Linked DNA regions of Homo sapiens: region 2 is linked to region 1. Evidence: promoter capture Hi-C in human tissues and cell types (Jung and others, 2019). All regions are on one chromosome and are shown on one strand. Each heading gives the region's core, a stretch centred on a gene start or on the middle of the fragment in contact. The rest is flanking DNA. Distances are from core to core; before and after follow the strand shown. Region 1 holds the start of ACTC1 (actin alpha cardiac muscle 1). Region 2 has its middle 44 kb from the start of ACTC1.

The links. The method cuts DNA at HindIII sites, captures the fragments that hold promoters and counts their contacts. A contact is called where the count stands out against the background at its distance.
Region 2: a fragment that was not itself captured here is called in contact with the fragment with the promoter of ACTC1 in region 1 in 2 of the 25 tissues and cell types used here (H1 embryonic stem cells and mesenchymal stem cells).

The regions. Positions count from the first base shown.
Region 1 is chr15:34,793,434-34,798,962 of GRCh38, reverse strand. It overlaps ACTC1 (actin alpha cardiac muscle 1), which reads left to right and starts at 3,414. Exons shown (of 7, transcript NM_005159.5): 1 at 3,414-3,457; 2 at 4,133-4,283; 3 at 5,394-5,529. The coding sequence starts at 4,155. All of the region lies in intron 2 of GJD2-DT (GJD2 divergent transcript), which reads right to left. RefSeq lists an enhancer at 1,796-2,267. The HindIII fragment of the contact is 17,333 bases long and covers 1-5,529 here.
Region 2 is chr15:34,836,331-34,841,859 of GRCh38, reverse strand. No RefSeq gene overlaps it. Among named protein-coding and RNA genes, the nearest start is that of ACTC1, 44 kb to the right of the region's middle. The HindIII fragment of the contact is 5,086 bases long and covers 1-4,766 here.

The sequences.
Region 1 (5,529 bases), core at 2,165-4,664:
AACTGCAGGAAGCACAATTTAGTCACAATTAGCAATAAAAAAAATAACACTCGGAGACTGCACAACAATGTGAATGCACTGAACACTTTTGAACTCTGTATTCCTAAATGGTTAAGATAGTAAATTTGATATATGCATATTTTACCATAATTAAAAAAAAATCTAGAATGTACCAAAGAGGAGATGTCATTTTTTTCTTCTTTGTTTTGTAATTTTTTTTGAGATGTCATTTTTATATGCTTAAAAAGCCAATCTCAATTTTCAAATTAAGTGGATCTGTAAAAAGTAGTTTAAATAAAACTCAGTCATGAAATCTTACTTTCCTGTTGGTTTACATTTTAAAATATATAAAATAGGGTTCAAAGTTTTTAAAATGTGGAAATCAAGGCCAGGCTTGGTGGCTCATGCCTGTAATCCCAGCACTTTGGGAAGCTGAGGCTGGCAGATCAGTTGAGCCCAGGAGCTTGAGACCAGCTTAGGCAACATAGTGAAACCCCGTCTCTTCAAAAAATACAAAAATTAGCGGGGTGTGTTGGCATGTGCCTGCAGTCCCAGCTGTTTGGGAGGCTGAGATGGGAGGATCAGCTAAGGTGGGAGAATCGGCTAAGGTGGGAGGATCACCTGAGCCTGGGAGGTTGAGGCTGCAGTGAGCCCTGATTATACCACCGCACCTGATTATACCTGGGTAACAGAGGGAGACCCTGTCTGAAGCAAACAAACAAATACATAAAAATAAAATAAATAAAATGTGGAAATTGAGTGGTAATACAAATAGTAAATATCAAACAATCATAAATTTTTAAGAAATAAGCATTCGTTCTTGCTACACACATAACACATATGAAAATACACTGTTTTGAGTGTTAGGCAATGAAATTGAGCGGAATAGGAAACACATTTTTCAAACATTTTAAGGGTGAATATTGTTTCACAAAACTGCTGTTGTGTCCTGCACTGTTCTACTGGCCTCCCACTAGAGCCAATGGTCCTGAGATGAGGGGGCTGGAAGTGGCCTCCTAGATCCCCGAAGCCTGTGCGAAGGACAAAGGTCAATAATCATGGTTTTCCATTCCTGAGAGTCTTTGCACCTATAGCAGTCATAGTGGGAGTCTCTCACCAGCCACTCCCATGCAGAAACTCTTTCTCTCACACAAATGTTCATAAACTTCAGTTCTGCTCTACTTTTAAAAACGAACAACACATCCTGGGGAAGGCTTTCTCGGCAACTCTTTCAGACCTCCATTCCCTTTTTGTGACTATCCTGCTGATACCTCTTCTTCCCTCCCAGTTTGTGCCATAGCTGTCTGACTTTTCTGTAATTGCCACGGAGGATGAGTCCTGCTCTGTTTTATTTATCACTGAATCCTTAACTAGCACAGTTCTTGTCCTGCAAAGATTTGCTGAATCAATGAAGAATGAAATCAACCTGATTCTTTAAAAGGCAGAGCTACTACTGCCTCCAAAAGTATCATTATTACACATACAATTTGCTTTGTATCTTCCATATTACTTACAGCATTTGTTTCTAACTATTACAATACACAATAACTTCTGCAACAAGTGTTATGGTATCACTTTTGAGAGGGAAAACTTGGGGCTTGGGAAGGTTAAGTGTCTTGCTCAAGACCAAACAGATAGTTAGTAAGTGATAAAGGCAGCATTTGAGCCCAGTTCTGTCTGGCTCTGACACCAGTCCCATTTCTCCTTTTCCTTGGTTTTTCTATATTTTCACGAGACAAGGCAGTTCTACTCTTGGCATCCTGTCAATAAACATTTTCACTGTAAAATGCCTGCTGTGCTGCACAGAGTAATCTCAGCCAGGTCTCTTACCCGACCCCACCACACAGCTGCCCATCGCGTTTCTTCTCCAGACCAACCCAAACATGGTTGGGGAGTTCAGAGGGGAGGGCCCAGCATTCCCCAGTCGGGACAAGTATCTAATCAGCAGGCCTCCTCAGCATATCAGCCCAAGACCACTCTAGAGAGAGATGCCAGTGCCCAGTTTTCTATTTTTAACTGGTGTGAACTGGAGGAAAAACACAAGCATTAAAAATCAAAGCTCCAGTCAAGAACTGAGAATGCAGGGCACCCCAGGGCAAACTAGTGATCTGTGTCCTTCTTACATCTCCCTCTTCCTTCTCCCTCTCCTCATTTCATGTCATTTTTCTTTTTCCTTCTCAAAAGTTCAAGATCCTGCAAAATCTGTTTTCCACAGAGGAGATGATATCTGTCATTTATGCCAATGCTTCTCACACTTTAATGTACATACCAAGCAAATGAGGATCTTGCTGAAAAGCGGATTGGGATGGCTCTTGAGATTGCATTTCTAGCTCATTTCCAGGTTATGACAATACTGCTTGTCCATGGGCTGCACTTTGAGTAGCAAGGATTGGTGTAGTCCTATAGTTTAAGTTGTTGCTATGTTCTCCATCAAAGTATTTGCCTTTGCAGTCTTGTCTCCACCTGGAGTGAGGGCCTCTGCCCCCAGTTTAAAGATGCTCATCTCCCCACCATCAAGTGGGCAAGCTACTTTTGGCATTTGTTCCTTTATTCACTTTGGCAGCAGGGGATCCTTTTCTGGCCTGAAGACCAGAGTCTGAATTTGAGCAAAACCCTGCAGCATGGATGAGGGCTACCCAATAACTGGGCTGGGGTAAACCTGGTCCCTTCTCCAGCAAGACTTGGCCAAGCTCTCACAGAAACCCTTTTCTGACTCTTCCCTGGCCAGACCCTGATCCATGCATGGGTTGGAACTCGGGTGGCCTTGGTTAATCTCAGCTTTCTGACCTAGATGAGCCCAGCACCAGCTCTCTGAGTAAAGCCATTCAGGCTGGCGGGGACTAGACCAGAAGGGTGCCCTGTCCTGGGTGCCCCTTTTGCAGCCACTCAGATGTGCTGCTGCGGTGTCCTTTGTGCTGGTGGCAGCCCTGGAAGATGAGAAGCCGCTGTTGCTCCCCTGCTGCCCTGGCCCAGCTGTCAGGACCCCTCAGCAGAGGGCAGGGCGCCAAGCCTTCCCACTGCATGTGGCTTATTGTCCCCAAGGCTGGCAGGGCTGCGGAGGACCGAATCCACAGACCATCCAGGGAGCACCCACACCCCAGAAAGGGGGAGGGGTGGGCTGGCGTCACTTAGTCTTCCCCTGCCCCCTACCCTTCAGCGCCTGCCCCTCCCCAGCTCCCTATTTGGCCATCCCCCTGACTGCCCCCTCCCCTTCCTTACATGGTCTGGGGGCTCCCTGGCTGATCCTCTCCCCTGCCCTTGGCTCCATGAATGGCCTCGGCAGTCCTAGCGGGTGCGAAGGGGACCAAATAAGGCAAGGTGGCAGACCGGGCCCCCCACCCCTGCCCCCGGCTGCTCCAACTGACCCTGTCCATCAGCGTTCTATAAAGCGGCCCTCCTGGAGCCAGCCACCCAGAGCCCGCTGCCGCCGGAGCCGAGCCGACCCGCCCCGCCGACGGTGAGTCAGCGCCCGGCCCTCCGCGTTCACTCCTCGCCTGGTCCGCGGGCCGCGCCGGACGCCAGCCCCGCGCCGCCACCTGGCCAGCCCGGCCCGCATTCAGCCAAGGCCCCAGCTCCTGCCGCTCTGCGACTGCCTTTTTTTTTTTTTTTTTAAAGCCCACACTTTTTGATTTGGTTCTAACTTGTTTTGTCCTGGGCGTTGGTCCTCGCAGGACCTCGCAGGGGCTCTAAGAAGGGGAATTTTGTGGCTCCCCAAGGGGCTTTTGGGTCCCTACTCTCGTGCGCTTTCCCCTCCATCTGGGGCACAGGCATGGCGATATGGACAGGGCTGGAGATCGAGTTCCCAGTTCGTGAAAAGGAAGAAAGTTAAAGGGCTGGGGAGGACTAAGGGGCTGGGTTTCTTGGGTCCCTCCTTGCACCTGGCACCCTAGCTGGAACTCCTGGCCAGGGAGCCTGGGTGGATTCCTCTGCCCTTCTCTGTCCCCAGTCTCCTCCGCGGCTTCTTCCCTCCCTTTTATGATTCGAGGGGAAGGGAGGTGGCAGGAGTGTTCCCCGCCCAACCCCCTGTCCAGTCCCCACAACCCCCTTCTGCTCTGTCCTGTCCTCTGGGTGCGGAGAAGGCCAGCTGCACAGGCAGCTAAGCGTGGTCCGCCCTCCCCTCCTCAACCTGCAGAACCCCCTGAAGCTGTGCCAAGATGTGTGACGACGAGGAGACCACCGCCCTGGTGTGCGACAACGGCTCTGGGCTGGTGAAGGCCGGCTTTGCGGGCGATGACGCGCCCCGCGCTGTCTTCCCGTCCATCGTGGGCCGCCCGCGGCACCAGGTAAACTTCCCGCCGAGCCCCCCGTCCCACTCGGGACCCCTTCAGTCCAGCGATCTAGGAAATGGCTCTCACCTGACCCTCTTGTTCGATGAACTCTTTAGGCCAAATTAAGAGAAGGCTGATTGACTTCAAATCCAAGCCAAGGCAAGCAATACTCCACAAAACCCCAACATACTGAGGAATGTACACCTGAGTGGCACGCCTCTAAAAGGGTCCCACTCCCTGGTGTGAAAGCCACCTGCTTCTCTCCACTAATGGCCTTTTGGACTTTTAGTCTTTAGTGTCTTCTCTGCCTTATACACTTCATTTTCTTCCTTGTCCTCTCTTTTCAGTCCTGTTTAAAACTTCTAACAATATCACCTCTCCCAACCAACCAGGACCAAATCCACATTCCTCTCTCATGTTCACAGCCAGTTTACAGGGTTCCCCAAAGGTGTAATCAATCTATCTCCTTCCTGGCTGTTGCATTTTTAGAAGCCAGGCGTGACAGAGGCAGCAAGTGCCATGGTGATAGTGACATACCACCTCGTTTGTTAAAAGACATGCCATGCTCTCTGGGTTTGTCACATGCCTGGCCAGACAGGCTGCCAAGCAGGAGAGCTTAGTCCTCAGAGCTGGTGAATGACTCCAGAACAGCTCTGGACAGGCTGAATTTCACTGTTGGAGTGAGGATGGCATATCAGCCCATCATTATGTGTTCACTTGAATGTCAAAATCTTTTTCTTAGGAGAAATACAATGTGTCATTAATTCAGTCATTCCAAAATGCAGTCATCTATATTCCAGTTGACATGGGTGATGAGCTTAATAACTTAATGAAGGCATATGATATTTTTAAGGTGAGGTGAGGCTCTGCTTCTTCAGTGGAATAGCTTCATTCTCTCCTGAGTTATATTCTCAACAATAGAATTATACATCTTTGGGGGAGTGGGGAGAAGGTAGAAGATTGATTTTTAAATAATTCTTCTAAATTGGGGTAAAATCGTATTGCTTGTTATTTCTGGTATTTAAATATGTTCCTTGACTTGGGCAGTTAGATATAAATGGACAAGACACTGATTATATTCCTGACATGGTGAGAGCATGATTTTCTCATTTTTTCTTCTCATAGGGAGTTATGGTGGGTATGGGTCAGAAGGACTCCTACGTAGGTGATGAAGCCCAGAGCAAGAGAGGCATCCTGACCCTGAAGTATCCCATCGAGCATGGTATCATCACCAACTGGGACGACATGGAGAAGATCTGGC
Region 2 (5,529 bases), core at 974-3,473, 44 kb before region 1:
TGTATTTAATTTAGAACATAATAAGGATATATGCTCATGATCATGTTATTATTTATTGCAAGAAGAGTCAGTACTCCTCTCGCACCAGAAGAAAAACCAAACAGACACTATTTCAACTTAGCAGGATGTGGAGTTGTACCATTGCCTCTTGTCAGCCCTGCTTATATAATTCAGAAGAAGAGCACTTGCCACTGTTGAACAGACTTCTTCACAGAGGGCCTGGGTGTGCAGCACCCTGCCAAGTTTCCTATTAGTTATGGAGAAAAGCCATTTGTATTCTGAAATTGCAAATCAGCCAGGCAATCACCACACAGAAATAGCCCCCATGAAAATAAAGCAGTGCTATATTTGAAGGCTTAATCATGTGTATTTATAGACCTGAGTTTAGTTCTATTTGGAAAATTTCACATTATACAGTAACATTGTGATTACCAACATACTCAAAGGGTGAGGGGATGGGATGTTTGATCCACTTAAATTTTCTGAGTAATGAGGAGTTAGTCACAAAGAATTTTTTTGTCCACTCACTAGTGAATGCCTTTCAAAAATTGCTTTAGTCAGCTCAGAGGAGATCAGAAAGCCAGCTATGAGGTATTCTGGGTGGGAGAAGTAGGGAAGTGTGTTCTCGACAGATTCGTCATTGATACTTAAAAACCCACCATGAGAGATTCAGTCTTATAACTTAGGACCCTGTTCCAAATTAAAATGAAAATTACTTGGGTTGGCTAACATTGCCCATATTAGTGTTTTAGGACTTAGTATTAATAAGTGTATCAGGACATTTCCTGGGAGAAGATTTGAAAAGATAGAGGGTACTAGAAGGCCTTGGGTACCTGGGGTGAGACAGCAGCGTTGCCTGTTTCCCAAGTCTGCTCCGGGCCAGGCCTGTCAGCACACAGTCTGCCCTTCTTCGATGAACACGTGTCACTGATACTGATCAGCTGACCTACAACCAGCATTTTATTGGACCCCCTCAAACTCAGCACACTCAGAAGGACTCATCGTCTTCCTCACCCACCCCTCACATCTGCTTCGCAATGCTCACTGTCTCCTCAGCACCTAGTACTCACGCTTACGAGGAAAGGCACCAATGAATGAACACTTGCAGGAGGTGAGGGAGGGAGACATCTGGAGACCTAGAGTAAGAGTATTCCAGGCAGAGGGAATGGCACCTTGAGGGCCCTGACACAGGACCTGGCCCAGGGTGTTCAAGGTGAATGAAGGGAGCAGTGGCAAGAGAGGAGGCCAGACAGGAGCTCTGTAGAAAGCATTTTCTACTGTTCAAATAAGAAAGCTTCGAGTTGTCTTTGTCTTCTTTTTCTGCCTCTATCCCCTGACTCAGTCTTTCCTCAAGTGCTCTGAAACATTCCTCAAAATTGTGACCTCCTCTCCATTCCCACTGCTACCACAATCAATTCCTCCCAGTTGCCTTCCCTGACTATGGCTTTTCCCTCCCAAATCTGCCCTCCATTTTGCTGCTACAGTTGGCCTCTCCAATTACGTAGCTCATCATGTTATTCCCCTCTTCAGCATCCTTGACGGCTCCCCGTTATCTACGCTAGCACTTTCCAATCGGACTTTCTGCAAAGACGGAAATGTTCTGGAATCTGTGCTGTTCAGTGTCCACATGTGCATTTGAAATGTGGCTAGTGAGACTGAGAAATTGAATTTTAAATTTTATTTAATTTTAGATAATTTAAATGGTTGCACGTAGCTAGTGGCTACATATGATATTGAACAGCCCAGCACTGATATCATTTTTAATCTTTTGGAAAAGCCAGGTTTCCTTTCCTTTTGAGACTCTAATGAGAGCTTCATTTTCCCTTAAAACTTCAGCTACAATACTTTTGCGTGTATTCTAATGGTTTGTGAATCTATGGAGCCCCTCTCTGTATCTGCAGTTAGGAACCTCTGGCCTAGAAGGTAATGTCTAAGCCCATTTTGGGGGCTCAAGACAGCACTTGGAAAATGTCCTCTGTCTTAAGCTAGATTCTATGAGCTGATTGTTCTGAGTGACAGGAAGTAGACTATTTGGAGGAATTAATGATGATGGGGAAAGGAAGCCAGGGACCAGTCCCAACAGGGCAGTATTACATGTTGGGTGTCACAGCATCTGGAGTCAAGGAGAACAAGAAGAGATTGGAAAATGTAATGGGTCAAGGCAACATCGTATGCCCTACCAGCTGCAAAAGAAATGAGGAGGTTGTGCCGGTGCTGGGACACAATAGTCAACCCAGAGGGATCAGGCTGTAAGATGTTGGCCTCATTTCATGTGCTCTGTGCTCCTATCACGCTGTGTGCATCCCTCCCTGGTCCCCAAATCCAGGATGTTTCCGTATGGTTGTTCACATGGCTTCCTTTGCTAAAAAGCCCTTTCTTGCTGGCCTAGCAAACTCCTTCTACAAGGTCAAATTCATCCCCTCTGTGAAGATTTTCCCACCTCCCTTTCTTATGAAATCAGTCACTCCTCAGCTGTGCTCTCCCATGACTGCCTCTCTCAGCCTTCCAGCCACCCAGTGTGGATTAGTAGTTTTGGAGTTAGATGGATGTAACTCAAAAATAACTGAAGTAGCTTTGCCACTTGCTAACTGGGTGATCTTTGACCACATTGCTATAGTTCCCTCATCTGCATGATTGGGGTCATGATAGCATCTGTGAAGAGTTGTTATAAAGACTAAATATGTTGAGATATGGGAATTGACCAGTATAATGCAAGACATATAGTTGGACTCAATAAATAGTAGCTATCATTACCATTTTTATTACTGTTATCATCTGGCTGGTAGCATTACCCCGTGATAGTACAGTTAGTTGCTTGTGGATGTTCTTGTCTCCCACACAAGACTGGATTCAAGAGTAGATTTCCTGTTTGAAGCAGCTTAGAAACCACTTGATATGAACAAGAGGCATATGCCTTGGTTTGCTTGTCCAAAAAGTTTCAGATATTATTTATTTGGCCAAAAATTTTTAGGATGCCCTTGCCAGGCATTGCACCCTTCCATTTGGATAGAACCATAGTATAATAAATAGGGACCAGCCTTTCACCTGCTTTGTGTGGTTTGAAATGTTCTAAAAGATCTGGTCAAACATGTTCCTTCTCAGTCCTGGCATTGTCCAAATCCTCTGCTTTTGGCACACATTGGTTTAGCAGACCAGTGCTGGAGAACAGCGCGCTGAGGGAGGAAGACACAGAACAGGCATAGCCTGAGTGGGGAAAAGACCTGAGATGCCACTGTTGCTATTGCTGCCGATAATGATGCTGAAGGTAATCATGATGGTGATCATGATGGTGATGACGATGGTGAAGGTGAGGGTGAGGGTGGTGATAATGATGAGGATGGTGGTGGCGGTGAGGGTGATTGTGATGATGATGATGATGATGGTGATGGAGATGGTAATGATGGAGATGGTGATGATGGTGAGGGTGGTGATGATGACAGTGATGGTGTTGGTAGTTGTGATTATGATGGTGATTGTGGTAGTGATGATGATGGTGGTGGTGACAATAATGTAATGATGGTGATGGTGATGGTGATGATTATGGTGATGGTGGTGGTGGTGATGTTGATGATAGTGATAGTGATGATATTTACTGAGCACTTATGCATCAGATACTGTGATATGTGTTTTATACAAATGATTACATTTGATGCAAACCCCACGGTACTATAATATTTTCTGTTATACAAATGAGGAAATTGAAGCTTAAATTTCTTAAGGAAATTAAGAAACATGCCAAAGTTTTACATGGCTGGTAAGTGGTGGAAGCAGGATTTGAATTGGGATATTTGAGTACAGGGTCTATACTGTGACTGGCTCATGCATGGAAGTGCTGCCCAGAAGGGTGGACTCTGGGTTTAGTGGAACGGGAGAGGCTGGTATGTGCTACTAGGAAATAAGACAGAGGCTCTGGGGATGTGGAGAAGGACCTGCTGAAACAATTGGTTGCACAGAATTTATTTTTGTCTATTACTGAAATACATGTGATGGTGAGCTGGCTCACTCTGGCCTCTTAAATGAGTGAAAGTCCTCACTTGGCTTTTGGAAATGTTTTTCTGGTGGACAGTGTTACATTGACAGATCCTCAAATGTCACTGCTGGGCAAACAACATCTATCCTTTGGCACCACTGGCAGCATCAATGATGGACGAAATTTATTAATGTAGCATCCATGGTGCTCTTAAGACGTGGCTGCTTTTATTAGTAAAACATATAATGGGTCCACTTACATTTGTTATGAAGGAAAAATAAAAACAGTTTCTCCTTGATCCTTTTGTATTTATTATTTTTTCAGAAATGACTAGAGTCTTGGCTTCAAAAAAGGATGAATGACTGCTTGGTGCTGACTCACCACTCAGCTGTGACTGCCTCTGGCCAAGAGGGAGGCTCAGGCAGGCATCTGCACAGTAGCTGCCTACCGTTAAGGTGGTGCTTGCTGGACTGTGACTGCTCAAAAGCCTCTCCTGCTTCTGACTCATGGCCTGGACTCTTCCATGGGTTCCTGTCTGCTTCTTATCAACGTTCACTGCAACCTTCCCTAGTCATAGGTTTTAAGCTTTTCCCTGCGCTCCCCAAATCCATTCCAGTCCCCTTGTCTTCACTGGCCTGTTTTCTCCTCCACTTACCATTACTCAATGGGGCAGAGAGTCAATTCTCACCTCTCTTTTCCTTGTCACTTTCACCGAGGCCCAAATGAAATGTTTTCCTCCTTCTTCTTGAATAGAGAAGGTGTTCAATAGCATTGTAGACTGAGAAGCCAGGAGGCACAAAGTCTGAATCCCAGCAGCCTTGATTTGATCAGATTTTTAAGGGCCATTCCAGCTCCAAGATGCTGTGATTAAATCTTGCCTGGATCATTGAACAAAGAAAAACTTTGCCATTGTGGGGTCACTAAGACATCTAAAATCTGACCACTTGGAGGAAGGAGGTGTGGATATTGACAGAGATGTTTACGTGTGGAGGGGAACCATAAGAAAGCTTATGAGCTAAGGCCACCTTCTTGGTGTGGTGGCCTAACTGTCCTAGGAGGTTGTCCTTTTCATTTCTTTTCAAGTCTGGGAAGCTAGCATGGCCCCACTTAACAACTCAGCAGGGGAAGTTTACCAATCATGTATCCATTTGTGTGGAGCTTCTGAAGGATGCTGGCCGTCCTGCAGCTGTATATGTTGCTTGGGGTCGGCATTAATCATTACCTAGTGAGCTCCAAACTCTCACTTACCTGAATGTGGCAATGTGCACAGACAAATCCATTTTTTTTCTTTTTCTTTTTTTTTTTTTGAGTCTCGCTCTGTCACCCAGGCTGGAGTGCATTAGAGTGATATTGGCTCACTGCAACCTCTGCCTCCCAGGTTCAAGTGATTCTCCTGCCTCAGCTTCCCGAGTAGCTGGGACTACAGGCACATGCCACCATGCCAAACTAATTTTTGTACTTTTAGTAGAGACGGGGTTTCGCCATGTTAGCCAGGCTGGTCTCAAACTCCTGACTTCAGGTAATCCGCCCACCTCGGCCTCCCACAGTGCTGGGATTAC